Linked DNA regions of Homo sapiens: region 2 is linked to region 1. Evidence: promoter capture Hi-C in human tissues and cell types (Jung and others, 2019). All regions are on one chromosome and are shown on one strand. Each heading gives the region's core, a stretch centred on a gene start or on the middle of the fragment in contact. The rest is flanking DNA. Distances are from core to core; before and after follow the strand shown.

Region 1 (4,370 bases), core at 478-2,977:
GAAGAGCTCTCCATAGCATGGGTGCTGACCAGGCCCAGCCTGGGTGACAGAGTGAGACCCTGACTCAAAGAAAAAGACATAATGAGGTGTGATTTTAATTTCTTGGATGTCCCAGTATATATAAATGTTGGGAGTATGGATTGCTTCATTTCATTTTAAATAGCATTTTTTTTTTAAGATGGAGTCTCACTCTGTCACCCAGGTTGGAGTGCAGTGGTGCGATCTCTGCTCACTGCAGTCTCTGCCTCCCGTGTTACAAGTGATTCTCCTGCCTCAGCCTCCCGGGTAGGTGGGATTACAGGCATGTGCCACCATGCCTGAATAACTTTTGTATTTTTAGTAGAGATAGGGTTTCACCATATTGGCCAAGCTGGTTTGAACTCCTGACCTCCAGTGATCCGCCCACCTTGGCCTCCCAAAATGCTGGGATTACAGGCGTGAGCCACCGTGCCTGGCCACCCTTTATCTTCTTTTCTTTTTGAGACAGGATCTTGCTCTGTCGCTCAGCCTGGAGTGTGGTGATGCAGTCATAGCTCACTGCACTCTTGAATCCCTGTGCTCAAGCCATCCTCCCACCTCAGCCTCTACTACAGGCATGCACCACTACACCCAGCTATTTTTTTATTTTTTGTAGCAACGGGGTCTCACCATGATACCCAGGCTGGTCTTAAACCCCTGGCCTTGTGATCCTCCCACCTTGGCCTCTCAAAATGCTGGAATTACAGGTGTGAGCCACCATACCTGGCCCCCTTCATCTTTTTTCCACTGCCTTGTGCCAACCCAGTTTGTGCACTGGGGCCTTGCGATCCTCTCAAAGCTGATTCAGCCTGCATTCCTTTCCCAGATGGACACGTGTGTGATAAACAGCTCTGCAGTGGGGTGAGGGAAGGCAGGGGCAGCAGGGTCCTGTATGTCCTGCCATCTCCACAAAAGGGCAGTCCTTACCCCAGCCTTGTGCTGATGAGACCAGGCATAGACAGTCCTGACGACACAGGGCGGAAGGGAGCAGCCATTAGTGCTAATGAGGCAGGCGGCCTGAAAGCTTTGTACTCTGCAGTGGCTCGCCCACCCAGGGAACAGTTCGTTCTGTTTCCTTGGCTTCCAGGAACCCTAGGCAGAAAGGGGTTTGGGGACAGGAGCAGGAGTGGGCGGTCTTGGAGAAACCTGGAGGGAGAAAGGGAGGGGAGGACCAGAAATGTAGTCAGGAGGGCCTAGGATTGGTTAGGTGGGCTTTTCCTTCCCCTTTCCCTCCAAAGAAACCCAGGTTCTGGTTCTGCACCTACCCCTGCCCAACAGTGGCCATTGGCCCATCACCCGCTCCAATGTCCTTGACCCGAATTCTTGGAAGCACAGGAAACAACATGCCACATAGGGGTTGAGTAAGCATCTCTGGGGCCACAAATTAAATTAAGCTTTCAGGGCCGCCTGCCTTGTTATTGCTAATGGTTCTAGCCCTGCTCAGCTCCTAGGTCCCTGTCCTGTGGAAATTTGTGGACCCTGGGCACCCTCTCTTGCTCCCAAATTTTAATCGGCTCCTGGAAACCTCACCCCAAATTGGAGATAGGCACTCCTCTTGTAGAACAAAAGGCTCAGGTTCAGGGAGTGAGGGCCTGAACTGTGCCCCCACCCTCCAGGAAGGGTCCTTCACGGCCTGGCTGCAGGGATCAGTCACGTGTGGCCCTTCATTAGGCCCTGCCATATAAGCCAAGGGCACGGGGTGGCCGGGAACTCTCTAGGCAAGAATCCCGGAGGCAGAGGTGAGTCCTCAGGTTGGGCAGGGACTCCTCCTCTCTGTGGGGTCTCTATCTGGGCACCTAGAGGGGACTCCAAGGATAAGGAGGGACTAAGTGGTACATCTTCCTGCTGAGCCAGGCCATGCTGACCGCAGCGGTGCTGAGCTGTGCCCTGCTGCTGGCACTGCCTGCCACGCGAGGAGCCCAGATGGGCTTGGCCCCCATGGAGGGCATCAGAAGGCCTGACCAGGCCCTGCTCCCAGAGCTCCCAGGTCAGTGTGAGCAAGGGTGGGACTGGGCGGGGCCTGAATACCCTCTGGCCACAAATAGTCTCCCCTGGCATAAACCCTCTTTCTCCCTTCCCAAACCCTCCCCTGGGAGGTGGGTGCTTTGTGCATGGGGGTTCCTGCCCTCACATCCTCTGCCCCAGGCCTGGGCCTGCGGGCCCCACTGAAGAAGACAACTGCAGAACAGGCAGAAGAGGATCTGTTGCAGGAGGCTCAGGCCTTGGCAGAGGTAACTGCTCAGGGAAAAGGGTAAGGTGGTGGCCCTTGGGAGGGGGCATTGGGTATTAGCTCCTCTCCCCAGCTCCAAACTCCCTCACCAGCGACGACACTACCGACCACCCCTTCCCATGCTCCACTGCCATCCTGCACAGGTTGGGACAGGTAAGATCCCTGGATCTGTCTTTAGAGGCCTGTGCTGGTTCCCCACCCCTGCAGGTACTAGACCTGCAGGACCGCGAGCCCCGCTCCTCACGTCGCTGCGTAAGGCTGCATGAGTCCTGCCTGGGACAGCAGGTGCCTTGCTGTGACCCATGTGCCACGTGCTACTGCCGCTTCTTCAATGCCTTCTGCTACTGCCGCAAGCTGGGTACTGCCATGAATCCCTGCAGCCGCACCTAGCTGGCCAACGTCAGGGTCGGGGCTAGGGTAGGGGCAAGGAAACTCGAATAAAGGATGGGACCAACCCCAAGGCTGTGGTTATTTCAAACGTGGCCGTCAAAGGAGGGAGGGTTCATGGAGGGGGTGGGAGTGTCACCAAGCCAAGAAACCACACATACTCTTATCCCAGGGCCTGGGCTACCCTATCATAGGAGGCACATACACGGGCGCTTTTAGGGGTCCTGGTGCCCCTGGGAAAAATAGAGAAGAGCCGCACTCCAGCTTTCGAAAATCTTGTACAGCAAGTGCGGGGAACGCAGGACGCAGCGTGGCACAGGGGCTATCACTCCTGGCTAACAAATAAGCCTTAGGCTCCAGGGCTTGCTGCTACTTCCACGCAAAGCCTGCCCCTCATCCTGTTACCAGAGGGAAGGCCAGGAGTGTGCGTTGTTCAGGTCCTTAGCGTTTCGAACAAAGAATTGAACAAAACCCAGAAAGTAACAAACGAATGACACACAGGAAGGAAGCAGACAGCTGGGATTTGTTAAAGCGAGAAAGCACTACGCAGGGTGGGAGTGGGCCTGAGCAAGAGGCTGAAGGGGCTCAGTTACAAAGTTTTCCGGGTTTTAAGTACTCCTTTTGCGGTCCCTGTCCGTTACCCCTTATCTGGATGAAGGGTTTGGTCCATGGCTAATTAATCCATTTATGCCTGAGGTTGCAATCTTTTTGAATTTTTGCAATCAGACCTTGGCCATGACCTTGAGCAGTAGGATATAAATAACTCCCATATGCTTAGCGTTCCAATAATGGAACACAAGGCATAAATGGGGCTAAGGTGAATTGGCGCCCTATGCAGATGAAGGGATGGCCCGTGCTTGGCCCGCAGCCAATCCAAGGCACTCTCCCTTTCAACTGAGACGTGGTGGAAGGGGGAGGGTTGTGGGGACAGTGGCCTTTGATCCTTTGTTACTTGGACATGGGGAGATGGGGTTTTTCTTTTTGGTTTAGCTTTAGTAAGCTCGCCTTAGTTGGCCTCCGGTTCCCTGCCCCCAGACCTTGGTGTTTTCCCTTGATTCAGCTTCAGAATTCAGCACGTATTGGCCTCAAGTTCCCCGCCTCCAGACCCTATTCTCCTACCTCAATCGGACCTCAGTTTCCCTCTGGGGAGGAGGCTGGCCCAGCAGTCTGGAAACTTTCCAAGCTTGAGAAGGGCTCGCTCCCTTCTTTACCCCGCCCGCCCTGCAGCGTCAAGTGCAGCAAACCGGGGAAAGCTAGAGAAGGCCCAGTCAAATCCCTGCGGCCACAGGCGCCACCAAGCGGCCGGCCTCAAACTTCCTCTTTTTAGCGCGCAGGCGCCGCAGGGCCAGCCCACGCCTGCACCGCGCTTCCGCGCAGCCACCCGGAAGCCGGGCACCGCTCAGAGCCACGCCCCCTTATGGTCACGTGAGGCGCTTGCGCGTCACCTGACGCACTTGACAGCCCGCTGAGGACGCAGCGTCAGCTGACCTGGGGAGTCGCGATTCGTGCCGGCCGGTCCTGGTTCTCCGGTCCCGCCGCTCCCGCAGCAGCCATGTCGTTCTTCCCGGAGCTTTACTTTAACGTGGACAATGGCTACTTGGAGGGACTGGTGCGCGGCCTGAAGGCCGGGGTGCTCAGCCAGGCCGACTACCTCAACCTGGTGCAGTGCGAGACGCTAGAGGGTGAGCCGGGGCCGCGAAAGGCGGGGATAGAGGCTGTCCGGGGCCTGAGGGTT
Region 2 (4,370 bases), core at 1,068-3,567, 150 kb after region 1:
CTACTCGGGAGGCTGAGGCAGGAGAATGGTGTGAATCTGGGAGACAGAGCTTGCGGTGAGCCGAGATCCACGCCACTGCACTCCAGCCTGGGCAACAGAGTGAGACTCCATCTCAAAAAAATAAATAAATAAAAATAATAATAATAATGGTGGACACGACATAATTGTCAAAAACCATAGAACTGTACAACACAAAAAATGAGCTCTAATGTAAACTATGGACTTTAGTTAATAATCGCATCAATATTGGTTCATAAATTGTAATATATCACAATAATGCAAGATATTAAAATTAAGGGAAACGGGGTGGGTGGGGAGAGGTGCAAGGAAGGTAAGCGTATATGAGAACTCTCTGTACTTTATGCCCAATTTCTCTGTAAACCTAAAACTGCTCTAAAAAATAAAGTCTATTAATTTTTTTAAAAAAGGAATGAAGTATTAATACATGCTAAAACATGAATGAATAATGAAAATACTATGCTAAGTCAAAGAAGCCAGACAGAAAAGGCTACATATTATATGATTCCAATGATATGAAATACCCAGAAGAGGCAAATCCACAGAGACAGAAAGCAGTTTACTGGTTGCCAGGAGCCAGGGGTAGTGGGAAATGAGGTGTGACTGCCTAATGGGTTGATGAAAATGTTCTGGAACTATATATAGGTAGCAATGATGCTTGCACAACATTGTAAATGTACAAAATGACCCTGAATTGTATATTTTTTAAATGGGGCTACGTGTGGTGGCTCATGCCTGTAATTTCAGCACTTTGGGAGGCGGAGGCAGGTGGATCACTTGAAGTCAGGAGTTCAAGACCAGCCTGGCCAACATGGTGAAACCCTGTCTCTACTAAAAACACAAAAATTAGCAGGGTATGGTGGGACGTGCCTGCAGTCCCACCTACTCAGGATGCTGAGGCAGGAGAATCACTTGAACCTGGGATAGAGGTTGCAGTGAGCTGAGGTCGGGCCACTGCACTGCAGCCTGGGCAATAGGGCAAGATTCTTATCTCAAAATAAATAAATAAATACTAAAACGGTGAACTTTATAGTATGTGAATTATATCTTTTTAAAATGCACCCATCTCTACAAAAAAAGAAAAAATTAGCTGGGCATGGTGGTGCACACCTGTAGTCCCAGCTACTCAGTAGGCAGAGTCAGGAGGATTGCTTGAGCCCAGGAGGTCGGGACTGCAGTGAGCCATGATCATGCCACTGCACTCCAGCTTGGGCAACAGAATAAGACCATGTTTTTTTTAAAAAAAAATAAATAAATAAAATAAATAAATAAATAAAATTTTCCTGACTTTGAGGGCAGTGTATTGGTAATTCTGTGGTATGTTATGATCTAACACCCTGAGAGTCTGTTAACATGGGACAAAAGCTAAGGACAATTATGGTTTCCATCAATGACCCACAGCATTTCTCATGCCTTTCACTGCAGTCTATTTTGAAGAGCAGACATTTTAACATTTTAAGAAGGAATGTGAATTATTAAAATGATAAACTGCCACAAAGACAAACATTCTTTAATGATTCACATGAATGCATGTCTTAAGAGGTTATGCATTTCGTTTCAGTGTTTATTTATTTATTTATTATTTTTTTTTGAGACGGAGTCTCGCTCTGTCACCCAGGCTGGAGTGCAATGGCACCATCTTGGCACACTGCAAGCTCTGCCTCCCAGGTTCACGCCATTCTCCTGTCTCAGCCTCCCAAGTAGCTAGGACTACAGGCGCCCACCACCATGCCCAGCTAATTTTTTTGTATTTTTAGTAGAGACAGGGTTTCATCATGTTAGCCAGGGTTGTCTCGATCTCCTGACCTCGTGATTCGCCCTCCTCAGCCTCCCAAAGTGCTGGGATTACAGGCGTAAGCCACCGCGCCTGGCCGTTTCAGTGTTTATAAAGAGTGAAGACAAATCAGAGAACAAATCAAACACTGCACAGCATAGATGCCAAGAATAAAAGAATGATCTTCCAATTTTAATATATGGGTTACATAACCCCAGTGGGCAAAAATTTGCTATTTGAAAATAACAAATCAAGTAGTCTCTCTAATGAAAACCATTTACAGCTCATTTGGAAATTGAATTAACAACCTTTAACAAAGCTTATTTATAATGACAATGAATGTTTCTAATAAATAAAACTTTTTCTTTTTCTTTTTTTTTTTGAGATGGAGTTTCGCTCTCTTTGCCCAGGCTGGAGTGCAATGGTGTGATCTTGGCTTACTGCAACCTCCGCCTTCAGGGTTCAAGCGATTCTCCTGCCTCAGCCTCCCAAGTAGCTGGGATTACAGGCATGTGCCACCCCGCCCAGCTAATTTTTATATTTTTAGTAGAGATGGGGTTTCAACATGCTGGCCAGGCTGGTCTCAAACTCCCAACCTCAGGTGATCCACCCCCCTCGGCTTCCCAAAGTGCTGGGATTACAGGCGTGAGCCACTACACCTGGCCATAAAACTTTTTTAAAAAGACCTCAGGAGTCAACTTGAAAGATCACCTATTAACTAAAGTTAGGATAAACTGAACATCAATTATGATAAGAACTATAATGGATTAAAACTTACATTGAAATATATTGCTATGGTTTGAACGTCCCCTCCAAAACTCATGATGAAATGTATTAATTTATTCAGAGATAGGGCCTTGCTCTGTCAACTAGGCTGGAGGGCAGTAGCACTATCATAGTGCACTGCAGCCTAAAACTCCTGGGGTCAGAGGATCCTTCCACTTCAGCCTCCTGAGTAGCTGGGACTACAGGTACACACCACCAACACCCAGTTAATTTTTAAATTTTTTGTAGAGACAGGATCTTGCTGTGTTGCCCAGGCTGGTCTCAAATACCTGGCCTCATCCTCCTCCCTGGCCTTCCAAAGTGTGTAAGCCGCCATGCCCAGCTTTCATGTTGAAACGTAATTGCCAATGTAACAGCACTGCGAGGTGGGGCCTCTAAGAGGTGATTAGGTCAACGGTGGCTTCATGCTGTTATCATGGAGTTAGTTATCACGGGAGTTAGCTATCCTAATAAAGGAATTAGTTCAGTCTTCTCTCTCTCTCTCTCTCTCTCTCTCTCTCTCTCTCTCTCTCTCTTTCTCTCTCACATCTCACACATGCACCTTCTGCCCTTCCACCATGGAATGACCCTCACCAGATGTTGGCACCATGCTCTTGGACTTCTCAGCCTCCAGAACCATGAGCCAAATCAACTTCTGTTCTTTATAAATTACCTAGTCTATGGTATTCTGTTATGACAAGAGAAAAGGGACTAAGACATTTATTTATTTATTTATTTATTTAGACTGAGTCTCAGTCTTTCGTCCAGGCTGAAGTGCAGTGGTGCGATCTCAGTTCACTGCAACCTCTGCTTCCCAGGCTCAAGTGATTCTCCTGCCTCAGCCTCCTGAGTAGCTGGGATTATAGGCACCTGCCACCATGCCGGGCTAATTTTTTTTGTATTTTTAGTACAGATGAGGTTTCACCATGTTGGACAGACTGGTCTTGAACTCCTGACCTCAGGTGATCCATCCTCCTTGGCCTCCCAAAATGCTGGGATTACAGGCGTGAACGACCATGCCCAGCCCTAAGACATATATTTAAATCGATGAGTTTATAATGATACTGAGAAAGCAAAACAGTCCTCACTGGTCACCTTTGGAGAATGCTAAGAAAATAACTCATCATTCTGAAAGCTGGCATATAAGGTGAAAACAAATCAAGCTTTTATGCTGCCTTTCCTATACAAACTGTACCTCAGGATAAGCAAACAGTTGATGTGAGGAAATTTCTCTTTATAGAAGTATTACAGTTAATGAAGAAAAATGAAAGAAATAGACAATTACCATTTTGCAATCCCTAATGAATTAACTTAGGTAATCATATTCAGTGGCTGATATCACGAAAAGAAAGAACACTAGGCACCATATACTTCCTAACATAAACATACACCATTACCTATGAAATCGTCTTGTGAAAAAAAAAAAATCCAACCTGAATCTGATTAAGCCTCATCTAACTACCAATTCATAGGAAGTACAGGGAACACGGGAAAATGTTTAACATCTTAGGAATGCAATGAGCAAAGTTCAGGTTATAGTAAACTCTTTCAAAGCCAGTTTCTTCAAAAACAATTGAAAATGCGAGGGAAAAAAAATGGGGAGCCTACAGATCAAATAAGACTTAAGACATACATCAACCAATTGCAATATATGGACCATATACGGATTCTTATTTTATTTTATTTTTTAGATGGAGACTTGCTCTGCCACCCAAGCTGGAGTGCAGTGACGCGATCTCAGCTCACTACAACCTCCGTCTCCCGGGTTCAAGCGATTCTCCTGCCTCAGCCTCCCAAGTAGTTGGGATTACAG

Evidence for each region. The method cuts DNA at HindIII sites, captures the fragments that hold promoters and counts their contacts. A contact is called where the count stands out against the background at its distance.
Region 2: a fragment that was not itself captured here is called in contact with the fragment with the promoter of AGRP in region 1 in 1 of the 25 tissues and cell types used here (mesendoderm cells).

Annotation. Positions count from the first base shown.
Region 1 is chr16:67,480,904-67,485,273 of GRCh38, reverse strand. It overlaps AGRP (agouti related neuropeptide), which reads left to right and starts at 1,727. Exons shown (of 4, transcript NM_001138.2): 1 at 1,727-1,757; 2 at 1,873-2,005; 3 at 2,164-2,249; 4 at 2,456-2,703. The coding sequence starts at 1,876. The coding sequence ends at 2,638. ATP6V0D1-DT (ATP6V0D1 divergent transcript) reads right to left here and starts at 3,880. Exons shown (of 4, transcript NR_184227.1): 1 at 3,755-3,880; 2 at 946-1,164. It overlaps ATP6V0D1 (ATPase H+ transporting V0 subunit d1), which reads left to right and starts at 4,117. Exons shown (of 8, transcript NM_004691.5): 1 at 4,117-4,317. The coding sequence starts at 4,188. RefSeq lists a silencer at 3,837-4,006 and enhancers at 4,117-4,166, 4,327-4,370. The HindIII fragment of the contact is 1,388 bases long and covers 1,228-2,615 here.
Region 2 is chr16:67,329,793-67,334,162 of GRCh38, reverse strand. The region is part of intron 1 of LRRC36 (leucine rich repeat containing 36); the gene reads right to left. Among named protein-coding and RNA genes, the nearest start is that of LRRC36, 5.2 kb to the right of the region's middle. The HindIII fragment of the contact is 7,189 bases long and covers 1-4,370 here.